Linked DNA regions of Homo sapiens: all the other regions are linked to region 3. The links are contacts of gene promoters, found by promoter capture Hi-C in blood cells and fetal thymus (Javierre and others, 2016). All regions are on one chromosome and are shown on one strand. The core of a region is centred on a gene start or on the middle of the fragment in contact, and the rest is flanking DNA. Distances in the headings are between cores, read along the strand shown.

Region 1 (4,429 bases), core at 64-2,563, 330 kb after region 3:
TAGGCACATTTTAGAAACGAATAAAAAGGAGAAGTCTCTCCTTGCAGCTGAGGGAGTGAGGCATTTGCAGGTATCCTGAACCTCCCAGCAGTCACCCGAGGGAGCAGAACCCTAATTGCAGCTGAGGTGCAACTGAGATGGAGCCACGGGGGTGCCTCTGAGGGCCTTTGTTTCATACTTAAACACTTTGCAAGTTGGAGCCGCTAGGCTTGGTGACAGGGCTCAGTTGGGACCAGTGTGGAGAAAGACAGGAAAGTGGAAAAGCTTGGTCGCAGCAGACACAAGGGCCTTTTATTTTGACAGAGCTGAGTTTGGGAGGGGTAGCCCAGCCCCAACCCATGCCTCATTGTCCCTCACTTGTTCCTTCTCCATTTCCTCCAGCTTTGTTTTCCTACCGTCACACCACCAACCTGGCTCTTTGGTCTTATCCTCCATCTGGACATTCTGCCTTCTTCTTGTCCCCTCACTTCTTCCTGTTCTCTGCCTTGGTGCATGAGCCCAGGGTGCACAGTGAAGGAAGGCAGAGGCCTCTGCAGAGCCAGGCCCAGTGCCCCATGAGCTGGTGCCACCTTCATGTATTTTTAGCTCTGTGACTTGACTTAGAGTCCTTCTGGGAGCACGTGACTACTCTTTCTTTCTACTCTGAGGCAGGAGAGTGACAGACTTTAGTGAGGTAGCTAGGAGAAAACGAGGGAACACGACTGGTTTCATTTTCATTTAGGGCAAACTCAAAAGCAGGAGGCTGTGATGGGTGGGTGGCTGGAGCTTGGGGCATCTGGGCTTCCACCCTGGTCTGGGCGGGGGGGTGGTTAGAGTGGGTGAGGTGGGCCAGGGCCAGAGCCAAGGGCACCCAGGCTCTTACCTTGCCGTCTCTGAAGCCCCAGGAACATCAGTGCAAGAAGGAAGAGACTGCTGGCAAAGATGACTCCCAAGGCTGTTCTCCGCTCTGTAGGTGAGAGCAACGTGGGCGGGGATCATCGTGCGCAGGAATCATGAGCTGAGCCCTCACCTGCAGTGTCCACCCCAGGGAGGAGGAGCTAAGGATTGTGTGTGTGAGTCCCTGGTTGAGGAGCCTGGAACAAGGCACTCAGCAGCATTTGTTCTTATTCAAGGTTGCTGGATACTTGTGAGTTACTCCACACAGAATTCTCTACCTCTTCCCACCTAAGGACAAGGTTTTAAAAATTGCTTTGCAAGTGAGATTTAGGTGGGTTTATTTGTTAGCACTTAACTTGCCTGGACACAGTGGCTCATGCCTGTAATCCCAGAACTTTGGGAGGCTGAGGTAGGTGGATCACCTGAGGTCAGGAGTTCGAGACCAGCCTGGGCAACATGGTGAAACCCTGTCTGTACAAAAAATACAAAAAATTAACTGGGCATGTTGGTGTGCGCCTGTGGTCCCAGGTACTTGGGAGGCTGAGGTGGGAGAATCACTTGAGCCTGGGAGGCAGAGTTTGCAGTGAGCTGAGATCGTGCCACTGCACTCCAGCCTGGGCGACAGAGTGAGACCCTATCTCAAAACAAAACAAAATAAAACAAAGCAAAACAAAAAACCACCAGTTAACTGGGATTTTGTAAATAGTTGGGGAATGATGTGAGCTGAAGTGAAACCTCAGTTTTGGGGAAGTTCACAGTCTAATGAGCAACCAAATAATGCCCAGTGCTCCTGGATGTTTCCACTTCAAGTTGCGGGTTCTTTCCTGTCCCTTTCCTGCTTAAAACCTCTCGACAGGCAGGGTGCGGTGGCTCATATCTGTAATCCCAGCACTTTGGGAAGCCGAGGCGGACAGATCACCTGAGGTCAGGAGTTTGAGACCAGCCTGGCCATCATGGCGAAACCCCATCTCTACTAAAAACGCAAAATTAGCCAGGCGTGGTGGTGCGCGCCTGTAATCCCAGCTACTTGGGAGGCTGAGGCAAGAGGATGGCTTGAACCCAGGATATGGAGGTTGCAGTGAGCTGAGATCATACCACTGCACTCCAGCCTGGGGAACAGAGCAAGATTCTGTATCGAAAAAAAGTAAAATAAAATAAAATAAATAAATAAATAAATAAATAAATAAATAAATAAATAAAACCTTTCAACAGCATGCTATGGCTCTCAGGAAGTTCCAGCTTGAAGGCCCAGTGAGATCTACAGGGTTTAATTAAGCCCGTAAGGGGAATCCGGTTGCCTGTTTTTCACATTCTCTCTTTACCATTGATTGATAGGTGACCTTGGGCAAATTCATTGACATCTGCAAGTGCCAGTTTACTCACCTGTAAAATGGGAGTCATGATCCATGAAATCATACATTTAAGTGCTTTCTACACTGCTTGATTCATGTAAATGCTCAATAAATAGAATTACCTCCGAAGCTTCAGAGCCACTTTCCCTTTTTCCCATATACCCTAAGCTCTAGCTGTGCTGAATTACTTGCAATTCTCCAAATTCTCTTTAGGCTGTTTTATGATTTGGCTTTCATATATGCTATTGTTTCTATCTTGAGTGTTCCCTTCCCTCTAAGCTAGTTAACTTGGCTCAAATGCCATCTTCTCTGTCTACTTAGTCTTGTCTCTATTACTGGACTAAGCTCCTGGAGGGCATGATCAGGAATTATTCATCTGTGATCTCCAGCCTTAAGCACATTGCCTGACACCCTGGAGGCTGGAGTATAATGAAGTCTCAGGGGATGTGTGGTAGAAGCTGTGGCAGCTGCCGCCTTGGGAAAATAGTCAGGAGCAGAGGCAGGAGCATGAAGCCAGGGCTGCGAACAAAGTGGATGGGCAGCAGAACAAGGCCATAGATGAGCTGGGGCAGGAGAGCCATGAGCCCTAGTGTGGAGGTGGGGAAAAGGAGGACACTCCCAGTACCTGGTGGGACAACCTGGGTGCTGGCCCCAAGGGGCTCCTCCAGAGAGATGTGTGTGACCTGGCAGGTGTAAGTGGCACCTGCAGAGCCAGGTTCTGCGGTGAGAGAGGAGGAGATGCTGTAGGTGCCTGCCACGCTTTGCCTGAGGCTGGAGAAGGAGGCACCAGAGACTTGGGCTGGGGATCCACCCAGCTCCTCTCGGGTCCACGTCACCACCACATCCAGAGGGTAATAGCCAGCAATGTCGCAGATGAGGGTGGGCAGCAGAGCTTCGTTTGCCAAGCTCAGTCGTACTTTAGGGGAAGCTGGAGAAAGAATGAGGAATAAGATTACACATGGATCTAACTGGGGACAGCGGAGGAGCCTGAAGCCTTTTCTTCCTGCCAAGATGAGAGTAGATTGTGGAGGCTACAGTGTCCCTTGGTGGTGTACCAAGGCGGGGGTGTGTGAGGGGCCCACCTGGATGCAGGCCGTAAGGGGGCAGGGTTACATTTTCCAGAAAACAGATAGTAAAGCCAACTAAAGATTGGCTGGCTTCTTACTGTCATTCTAAGCCAGTTTTTTTTTTTTTTTTAAGATGGTGTCTTGCTCTGTCGCCCAAGCTGGAGTGCAGTGGCATGATCTTGGCTCACCGCAACCTCCACCTCCGGGGTTCAAGCGATTCTTCTGCCTCAGCCTCCTGAGTAGCTGGGACTACAGGCGCGCACCACCATGCCTAGCTATTTTTTGTATTTTTAGTAGAGACGGAGTTTCACCGTATTGGCCAGGCTGGTCTTGAACTCCTGACCTCGTGATCCGCCTCCCAAAGTGCTGGGATTATAGGTGTGAGCCACCGCGCCCGGCCTCTAAGCCAGAGATTTTAAAGGATAGCAGTGATAATGGTCAGAACCGCTTCCACTGCTCTGCCTTGGTTTGCTGCTGCTGCTCCTCAGGATGTGGTCCAAAAGGACTGGGGTGATGGAGACAGCCAGCCACAGCAGGGCAGCAGGATCCTGGGCTGGAAATCTCTTGGTGGAATTATCCTGGAGTCCAACGGGACTCCTTATCTGATGCCATCTGTGCTTCCATGGTGAAGATGGCATTTAAGTTGTGGGATTGAAGCCTGCTTCTCAGGAAATCATTCTTGCATTTGGGTCCCAATCTGGAAACGCTCCCAGTAGACATGTTATATCCCCTTCCCTGGGATAACCATGTCCTGGCCTCACCTTGGATGTTGAGCTGGATGATCTGCTGAGCTCGGTACAGAGAGGTGGTGATCTGGCAAATGTAGGTCCCCTCGTCCTGTATAGTGAGGCCGGGCAGGGTGAGGGAGGCATCCCTGGCCATGCCCAGTTGTGCAGGCTCCAGGGTAGCGCCCTTCCGCACAGCCTGCCCCTGCCCTGCGGTCCAGCTGTACACCAACTGACCCCTGCCCTTGTGCTGCAGTCGCCACTCCACACTGATGAGGTCCAAGCCCGGTGCCATGGAGAAGCCACAGTCCAAGGAGGCTGAGGACCCCAGCAGGAAGCTCAGGGATTGGGTCTGTGTCATCACCTGGAACTCCACTGTGAAGAGGAAAAGAGGGGTGATTTGTGGGCT
Region 2 (4,647 bases), core at 910-3,409, 300 kb after region 3:
TTGCTTGAAGCCAGGAGTTCAAGACCAGCCTGGGCAACATAGCAAGACCCCATCTCTATATTTTAAAAAACAAAAACTCCATAAAAGTGAAGTTAGATTAATAAATACTTGTTGCGGGGCATGGTGGTTGGAGCACACTTATAATCCCAGCTACTCTGCAGGCTGAGGTGGGAGGATCCTTTGAAACCAGGAGTTGGAGGCCAGCCTTAGGAACATAGCAAGACCCCATCTTCAATAAAAATAAAAAGCACTTGTTAAATTACAAGTGGGTTTTGGATAAATGGATTGATGGGTATATATGAAAACATGATCCTGGGTCTTACGGAAATGTTTAGGAGAGTCAGTTTTCAGAGGGGTGGCTGGAAGGAGCTATGCATAAGAATGGAGAAGTTGATGTGAAATGTGAGTGGCTGTATACTTTACATGATTTGGTGGTGCTAGAGTGGAGAAAATAAAATATTTGGGACTCTGCTAAGTGCAAGGTGCCCTGAAGAAGATATCTACATATCCTGGTAGAGTATCTGATTGTTAGGGAAGAGGAAATTAATAGGTCAATAGGCATTTATAGAATATTTCCTGATTCAAAGATACAAAAGGTTTTGTTTTCAAGGACAGAACAATCTTGTTTGTGGTATGAAACAGTATATAACGTTTTCTTTGAATAAATATTGAATTATTATGTGCAAAGATATTTGGAGGAACAAAAATCACCAAGGTAGGGTTGGTTCCTACCTCTAAGTAGTCTTCATTCTACTTAAAAGATGTCCGGTGGCTCACACCTGTAATCCCAGCACTTTGGAAGGCCTAGGTGGGCGGATCACGAGGTCAGGAGATCAAGACCATCCTGGCCAACATGGTGAAACCTCGTCTGTACTAAAAATACAAAAAAATTAGCCAGGTATAGTGGTGTGTGCCTGTAATCCCAGCTACTCGGGAGGCTGAGGCAGGAGAATCGCTTGAATCCGGGAGACAGAGAGGTTGCAGTGAGCTGAGATTGCACCATGCACTTCAGCCTGGGCAACAGAGGGAGACTCTGTCTTTAAAAAAAGAAAAAAAAAAAAAAAAAGACGTCTGAAGGATGTAAAGTTACAAGATGGTGGACCAATGTGATACTCTGCAGAATGTGCAAATGGTCCACATTTTTTAGATTACATCATGACAGAGAACAGAATTAACATAGCCCTGATGAAAGACCATGACTGTATACTGTTGTTCATCCCCTCCGTGGTGGACTGCTTCTGACCAACATGCTTTAGAAAAGAATGTTGGTTGGGCATGCTGGCTCAGGCCTGTAATCCCAGCACTTTGGGGGGCCAAGGTGGGCGGATCACCTGAGGTCAGGAGTTCGAGACCAGCCTGACCAACATGGAGAAACCCTGACTACTAAAAATACAAAATTAGCTGGGCCTGGTGGCACATGCCTGTAATCCCACCTACTCAGGAGGCTGAGGCAGGAGAATCGCTTGAACTCGGGAGGTGGAGGTTGCAGTGAGCCAAGATCGTGCCATTGTACTCCAGCCTGGGCACCAAGAGCGAAACTCTGTCTCAAAGGAAAAAAACAAAAAAGAAAAGGATGTTCGCCAGGTGCAGTGGCTCACACCTGTAATCCCAACACTTTGGGAGGTTGAGGCGAGAGGATCAGCTGAGCCCAGGAATTCGAGATCAGCCTGGGCAACATGGTGAAATGCTGTCTCCACAAAAAAAAAAAAAAAAAATTAGCCAGGCGTTGGTGGCATGTGCCTGTAGTCCCAGCTGCTGTGGAGGCTGGGTGGAAGGATTGCTTGAGCCTTGGGGGTCGAGGCTGCAGTGAGCTGAGCTTGTGACACTGCACTTCAGCCTAGGCAACAAAGCAAGACCCTGTCTCAAAAGAAAAAGAAAAAGAAAAAAGAAAAACAATGTATTTGCTAAATCAGTGGTCACAAACCACAAATGTGAGGCTATGTTAATCTGCTCCAATAAAGATATCCCATCCAGCAGACAATTAGCACTGGGATTCCCACTTGGTTAAATTGGCAGCAGCTTCATCCAGTTTATACAGGGGTAAGACTGGAAAAAAGAAAAAAAGAAGAGATGTGTATGTAAACAAAATGTAAATTTAAATATGATAATGAAAGCGAGTCCCATGACAGGTTTTTTTTTTCTTTTTTTTTTTTGCTGAGGGGGATGATCAGAAAAGGTATTTGTTGAAAAGATGGCATTAGAATGAGCTCTTGAGGCCAGGAGCAGTGGCTCATGCTTGTAATCCCAGCACTTTGGGAGGCCGAGGTGAGCAGATCACTTGAGGTCAGGAGTTCAAGACCAGCTTGGCCAAAGTGGTGAAACCCCATCTCTACTAAAAAAATACAAAAAACAAATTAGCTGGGCATGATGGCACATGCCTGTAATTCCAGCTACTCAGGAGGCTGAGGGGGGAGGATGGCTTGAGCCCAGCAGGTGGAGGTGGCAGTGAGCTGAGATCAGGCCACTACATTCTAGCCTGGGCAACATAGCAAGATCCTGCCTTTAAAAAAAAAAAAAAGGAAAAAAGAATTCCACCCAGTGCAAGAGGCAGATGAAGAAGCATAGTTATGAAATCCAGTATGTCATGACATTTAAAGTTTGTTAATAGCTATGTGTATAGGTGTGGAGAGGAAGAGACACCTATCTTTTCCTGAGGAAGCAGGAATGGGGACGAGAAGGGCTTTAGAGAAGAGGTGACCACTGAGTTGTCTTAAGGGAGTGGAGGCTAGCAGTTTTTCCAGGCAGTTGAAGCAGAAATAAAGGCCTAGAGTCAAGAAACAGCATGGTGTGCATGAGAAAGCTATGAGTGGTATTTACTGGTGGAGCTACTGCTTGTGGTAAAAGACAGGGAAAGAGATGGGAAGCAAGAGTCAGATCCTGAAGATTGTAATGATTATTAAAATTTAGCCTTTAGGGGGCCGGGCGCGGTGGCTCACGCCTGTAATCCCAGCACTTTGGGAGGCTGAGACAGGCAGATCACGAGGTCAGGAGATCGAGACCATCCTGGCTAACACGGTGAAACCCCATCTGTACTAAAAATACAAAAAATTAGCCTGGCATGGTGGCGGGCACCTGTAGTCCCAGCTACTTGGGAGGCTGAGGCGCGAGAATGGCGTGAACCCAGGAGGCGGAGTTTGCAGTGAGCTGAGATCGCACCACCGCACTCCAGCCTGGGCGACAGAGTGAGACTCCATCTCAAAAAAAAAAATTTAGCCTTTAGTAAAATGGTGCAGCCACTTTGGAAAAGTGGCAGTTCCACAAAAAGTTAAGTGTAGAGTTACTGCATGACCCAGTAATTCCACTCCTAGGTTTATACCCAAGAAAACTGAAAACATATGTCCACACAAACACTTGTACATAAATCTCCTTAGCAACATTATTCATAATAGCTAAAAAGAAGAAACAATCCAAATATCCGTCAGCTGGTGAATGGATACACAAAATGTGGTCTATCCATACAATAGAATATGGAATATTATTATTATTATTATTTGAGACAGAGTCTCGCTCTGTCGCCCAGGCTGGAGTGCAGTGGCCCGATCTCGGCTCACTGCGAGCTCCGCCTCCCAGGTTCACACCATTCTCCTGCCTTAGCCTCCTGAATAGCTGGGACTACAGGCACCTGCCACCACGCCCGGCTAATTTTTTGCATTTTTGGTACAGACGGGGTTTCACCGTGTTAGCCAGGGTGGTCTCGATCTCCTGACCTCGTGATCCACCTACCTTGCCCTCCCAAAGTGCTGGGATTACAGGCGTGAACCACCACACCCAACCAGAATATGGAATATTATTTTTTTAACTTTCTTTTTAACACTCCTTCCTGCACACTGACAATGGAATATTATTAAGCTGTAAAATGAGGTACTGGCCAGCGTAGTGGCTCACACCTGTAATCCCAACACTTTTGGAGGCCAAGCGGGAGGGGAGGATCACTTGAGGCCAGGAGTTTGAGACCAGCCTGGGCAACATAGTGAGACCCTGCCTCTAAAAAATAAAAAGAAAAAAATAGCTGGGTAGGTTGGTGAGTACCTGTAGTTCTGGTGAGTGCCTGTCGTCTTAGCTACTTGAGAGGCTGAGGTGGGAGGATGGCTTGGGCCCAGGAGTTCAAGGCTGCAGTGAACTATGATCACATCAGTGCACTCCAGCCTGGGAAACAGAGCAAGAGCCTATCTCTCTCTCTAAAAAAAAAAAAAAAAAAAATAGGGCCAGCCACGGTGGCTCACGCATGTAATCCCTGCCAGCAACAAGAACAAAACTCTGTCTCAAAAAAAAAAAAAAAAAACAACGGGTGGTGGCTCACACCTGTAATCACAGCACTTTGGGAGGCAGAGGTGAGCGGATCACTTGAGGTCAGGAGATCGAGATCAGCCTGGCCAACATGGTGAAAGCCCATCTCTCCTAAAAATACAAAAATTAGCTGGGCATGGTGGCGGGCACCTGTAATCCCCAGTTACTTGGGAGGCTGAGGCAGGAGAATCGCTTGAACCCAGGAAGCGGAGGTTGCAGTGAGCCGAGATTGCGCCATTGCACTCCAGCCTGGGTGACAAGAGTGAGACTCCATCTCAAAAACAACAAAACAACAACAACAACAAACCCAAAAATTAGCCGGGCGTGGTGGCAGGCGCCTGTAATCCCAGCTACTCAGGA
Region 3 (4,556 bases), core at 1,061-3,560:
CAGTCAGGCCTCACTGCAGCCTCCGTCTCCCAGGCTCAAGCAATCCTCCCACCTCAGCTTCCCAAGTAGCTGGAACCACAGGCACACACTACCATGCCCAGCTAACTTTTGTGGGGTTTGTAGAGATGGGGGTTTCACCATGTTGCCCAGGCTGGTCTCAAACTCCCAGGTTCAAGCCATCCTCCTGCCTCGGCCTCTCAAAGGGCTGGGATTACTGGTGTGGGCCACCACGCCCGGCCCATCACAGGTATTTCATTCAACAAACATTTATTGAGTGTCTAAAATGTGCAAGACTGGCCCAGTATGGTGGCTCACGTCTGTAATGCCAGCACTTTGGGAGGCCAAGGCGGGCGGATCATTTGAGGCCAGGAGTTTGAGGCCAGCCTGTCCAACATAGTGAAACCTGGTCTCTACTAAAAATACAAAAAGTAGCCGGGCGTGGTGTTGGGCTCCTGTAATCCCAGCTACTCAAGAGGCTGAGGCAGGAGAATCGCTTGAACCCAGGAGGTGGAGGCTGCAGTGAGTGGAGATCACGTCATTGCACTCCAGCCTGGGCAAGAGAGCGAGACTCCGTCTCAAAAATAATAATAAAAAATAAAACGTGCAAGACAATTGGTCTAGCCAATTGCCCTCAGCACCACCCCGCCATTACGGCCAGGGTCAGAGCCTAGGGCTGCCCCCAAGCTCTGTCTAGCACCAGTGGTGGGAGGAGTTTTTATCTAGATATAGACCTCTCCTATGTAAGTGCTCCCACATTGAAAGAGGGAAATCATCTCCCGAGTGTCTCTAACGCTGTCCTCAGGGGCTCTTTCATCTGACTTTGAGGGCGGCGGCCATTTTGTATCAGCCTACAGCATCTGATACAGCACAAGGAATTATTGGTCAAAATGTGAAGTAGCAGTGACTTCCCCCATCAGGCCCTGCTCTTAGCCTTGCCCCGATAAAAATGTCCACCACAAGAGCAGGGCATTCAGGAAGCACTATCCCACTCAGAGTGAAATCTTTGAATTATTGAGAACAGGGCCTTTCCGTTTTGAGGGATCAGAACGTACCCCAGGAAACCTCTCTCCCAGAAGAAGCCTATGAGGGGAAAGCAGAGGACACTGGGGATAGCACGGCTTCAAGGCCATGAGGTCTCAGGGGCTGGAAAGGTCTGAGGGCGGAAAGGCTGAGATGGCACAGGGCTTCCCTTCAGGAGGGACAGTGAGTCCTCACTCTCCCTCACACCCTGCCAGGCCCAGGAGGGGCTGCACATCCTTCTGTAACTCTCCCGGCCTCATGAGACCCCTACCACCAATTCTTTTCGAATCCGTTTCTTAAATGACATATTTATCTAAAGATATGTATCTGCAACTTTTAGGGCAATTCATACGCAAAAGCTCAGTTTCAACACTTTCTGAGAATTTTAGCTTTCCTATTTCATGAATCATTTTAAAGCTAACTAGAGTAGAAGTGCCTTTAGACATTGTTCAAAAATCTTAAAAGAGCAAAGAAGCAGACAAAAATTTAAAAATACACACAGAAACACAAAAGGTAGTTAAAAGAGACTATTACATAGATCATGCGACTTATGAAATGCTGCAAGTATGATATTTGGTGTCAATTTTTGGAGATTGTCCCGTTAAGGAAAATTGGTTTTGCAAGAATTTTCTCTAGACTAGATTCCACTTCTTTTGCTCTTTTTCTTGTTTTTATGTTTTTCCTCATCATTTCTTTTTTATAGGTTTCCTCCCACCTTATATTTATTTATTCTTTCTAATTTTTTCCCTCCCCTTCTTCACTCTTTTTCTCCTCTTTTCCCCTCTTCCAGTCTTCTCCCCTCAACTGCCCACGACTAGTTGCCTTCCACGCCTTTCCCAGCCTGGGATAGTCTCCAGTCTTCACTCCCTCTCTGATCTTGCTATTTAGGTCACTACTCCTCTAAGGAGCACCCATTGCTCTGGACACTGAGCTGTGCACGCTGGGGCTGCAGAGAGGAGTCTAGCACAGTCTCTGACCTCTGGAAGCTCACAGTTCCAGTGGGAAATCGCTGCTCATGACCAGTTCCAAGAGAAATGCAAGAGAAGGTGGCCAGAGCTGTGGGCAGACAACTGGGCAGAGCACATTCCTGTGCATCTGCCCCACGTTCCCCTCCCTCTCAGCTCCGGGGAAGGAAGCCGAGTCTGACCACCTTACCTCTGGGCTTGCGTCTTTCTTGCCCGCTGCTTCTCAAACAGGCGTATCTGTGTGAGGACTTGGAGCTCTGCAACCAGGAGCCCAGTGGGGAGGGTGCTTTGTTCCTTCTGCAGAGTCGTGCTTAAATGAAGAGAGACAGGAAGCCCGATGGCAAGGCTCCTCCACACCCTAGGCCTGGGCCGGCCCCAAACGTCACCAGCTGGAGCTGGGTTCCCCACCCCCCAGGCTCTCAGGGAACATGTCAAAGTGAAAATGCCAAAGTCAAGGGAAAAAGTTAAGCAGAATCAGGCTTAAATCAGGAGTCAAACTGTCACTGCCACTGTTAAGCGGCAAGAAAAAGATGGCAAGAAAGATTCCATTAGTGGTAGCGCCATGTCTGACCAGGCTGTGGGGAAAGAAGTGGGAGGCAGTTGGGGGCATATGGGAACAGCAGTGGTAAGCCCACAAACAGCTCCTTGCTCTGGGGCCCTGAGGGCATGTGTCCAGTGGGTGCCCCAGGGGTATCTGTGGAGGCTTTATAGGTGGCCCAGTGTGGAAGAGAGGGCGTGGGCTGAGCAGAGAATATCTGAGACACCAGGAGTGACTGTTAACCAGGCTCTGTTCCTCTAGGCGTCTCTGGCCAGGCCTCAGGTGCTTTCCTCTAGCCCGAATCTACCATGAACTCTCTATGTGAGTATCCGTCTGCCCATTGGACATCTCCACTGGGAAGCTCACCGGACATAGCAAACTCAACACACATCCCCAACTATGCATACCACCTGCATACTACCACCCTCCAAACCTGCTTCTCCAGGCTTCTCACTCAGTGAGGGGCTCACCATCCACCAACTTGCCCAAGCAAAATAAATTGGGTGTAATCTTTGACACCCCCTTCACCCAACTTCTCCCACGTATTTATTTACCAGTTCCTGTGGATGTTACCTTCTAAATGGCTCCAAAATCTACCCAAGTCACTCTGCACTACCACTACTGCCACCATGCCAATCCAAGATGCCAATATCATCCCTTGCTCGGACAACAGCTCCTGCCTCCTCACTGGTCGCCATTCTCCATACCACAGCCCAAGTGATCATTTAAAGATGCACATGTGAGTGTGCGTTTTCCAGTCTGAAAAAAGTGGGGCTGGGAGTGGTGGCTCATGCCTATAATCCCAGCATTTTAGGAGGCCGAGGTGGGGGGATCGCTTGAGCCCAGGAAGTTGAGGCTGCAGTGAACCGTGATTGCACCACTGCACTCTAGCCTGAGTGACAGAGTGAGAACCTGTCTTGAAAAGAAGAAAAGAAAAGAAAAGAAAAGAAAACTCTAGTTCAGCTTGCGACTCCAACAATTAACACAAGTACCCCTATTTGACAGCATTGTACTTCATCTGTAGCATATAGTACTGTGTGCTACTTCTCATTTCATGACACACCGTACTCAAGGGTTGAGATTTAATAAAATTAGTATTTACTGCTTCATTAAAGGCATTCTATATATATATATATATATATTTTTTTTTTTTTTTTTTTTTGAGAGGGAGTCTCACTCTGTTGCCCAGGCTAGAGTGCAGTGGCGTGATCTTGGCTCACTGCAACCTCTGCCTCCCGGGTTCAAGCAATTCTCCTGCCTCAGCCTCCCAAGTAGCTGGGGCTACAGGCATGCGCCACAATGCCCAGCTAATTTTTGTATCTTTAGTAGAGATGGGGTTTCACCATGTTGCCCAGGATGGTCTTGATCTCTCTTTTTTTTTTTTTTTTTTTTGAGACAGAGTCTTGCTTTGTCATCCAGGCTGAAGTGCAGCAGCATGATTTCGGCTTACTACAACCTCCGCCTCCTGGATTCAAGCCATTCTCCTGCCTCAGCCTCCCGAGTAGCTGGGATTACAGGCACCCGCCAACATGCCTGGCTAATTTTTGTATTTTTGTAGAGACAGGGTTTCACTCGTTGGCCAGGCTGGTCTTGAACTCCTGACCTCAGGTGATCCTGATCTGCCCGCTTCGGCCTCCCAAAGTGCTGGGATTACAGGCACGAGCCACTGCGCCCGGCCTCATTAAGGGCATTCTTAAGTAAAAGTGGCATTAATTTTTTTTCTTTTTTTACTGTAAGTACCTGGCAGTGAAGAATGCAATGACTATCATATGGTTTGGCACCACTGCCTTCATTTATGCTAAGGCAGCAGTTTTATCCAGATTGTTTTTGCAACATTATTGCAATGTCAACATAGTGACAAAGGAAAATAACATCCTGTATTTTTTTATGAAAATAGCTTGACCTTGAAGATCCCCTGAAAGGGTCTCAGGGACTCCCAAGGGTCTGCAGGCCACACTTCACTCTGAGAACCACTGATCTAGGTAATTTTTATTCATTCTTCAGATCTCAGCTATCGCTTTAGCTGTCCCCAA

What was found. Contacts are between HindIII fragments. The CHiCAGO score rates a contact against its expected background, and 5 or more counts as called.
Region 1: a fragment that was not itself captured here is called in contact with the fragment with the promoter of CD4 in region 3 in 4 of 17 cell types (activated CD4 T cells, total CD4 T cells, non-activated CD4 T cells and 1 more); the score reaches 7.3 in activated CD4 T cells.
Region 2: a contact is called between a fragment that was not itself captured here and the fragment with the promoter of CD4 in region 3, in 1 of 17 cell types (naive CD4 T cells). The highest score is 5.9, in naive CD4 T cells.

Annotation. Positions count from the first base shown.
Region 1 is chr12:6,457,372-6,461,800 of GRCh38, reverse strand. TAPBPL (TAP binding protein like) reads right to left here. Exons shown (of 7, transcript NM_018009.5): 4 at 4,057-4,395; 5 at 2,854-3,156; 6 at 863-946. Among named protein-coding and RNA genes, the nearest start is that of TAPBPL, 7.5 kb to the right of the region's middle. The HindIII fragment of the contact is 2,094 bases long and covers 267-2,360 here.
Region 2 is chr12:6,486,241-6,490,887 of GRCh38, reverse strand. No RefSeq gene overlaps it. Among named protein-coding and RNA genes, the nearest start is that of MRPL51, 4.7 kb to the left of the region's middle. The HindIII fragment of the contact is 7,598 bases long and covers 1-4,647 here.
Region 3 is chr12:6,787,282-6,791,837 of GRCh38, reverse strand. It overlaps CD4 (CD4 molecule), which reads right to left and starts at 2,310. Exons shown (of 10, transcript NM_000616.5): 1 at 2,176-2,310. RefSeq lists enhancers at 2,404-2,453, 2,269-2,826. The HindIII fragment of the contact is 6,468 bases long and covers 1-4,556 here.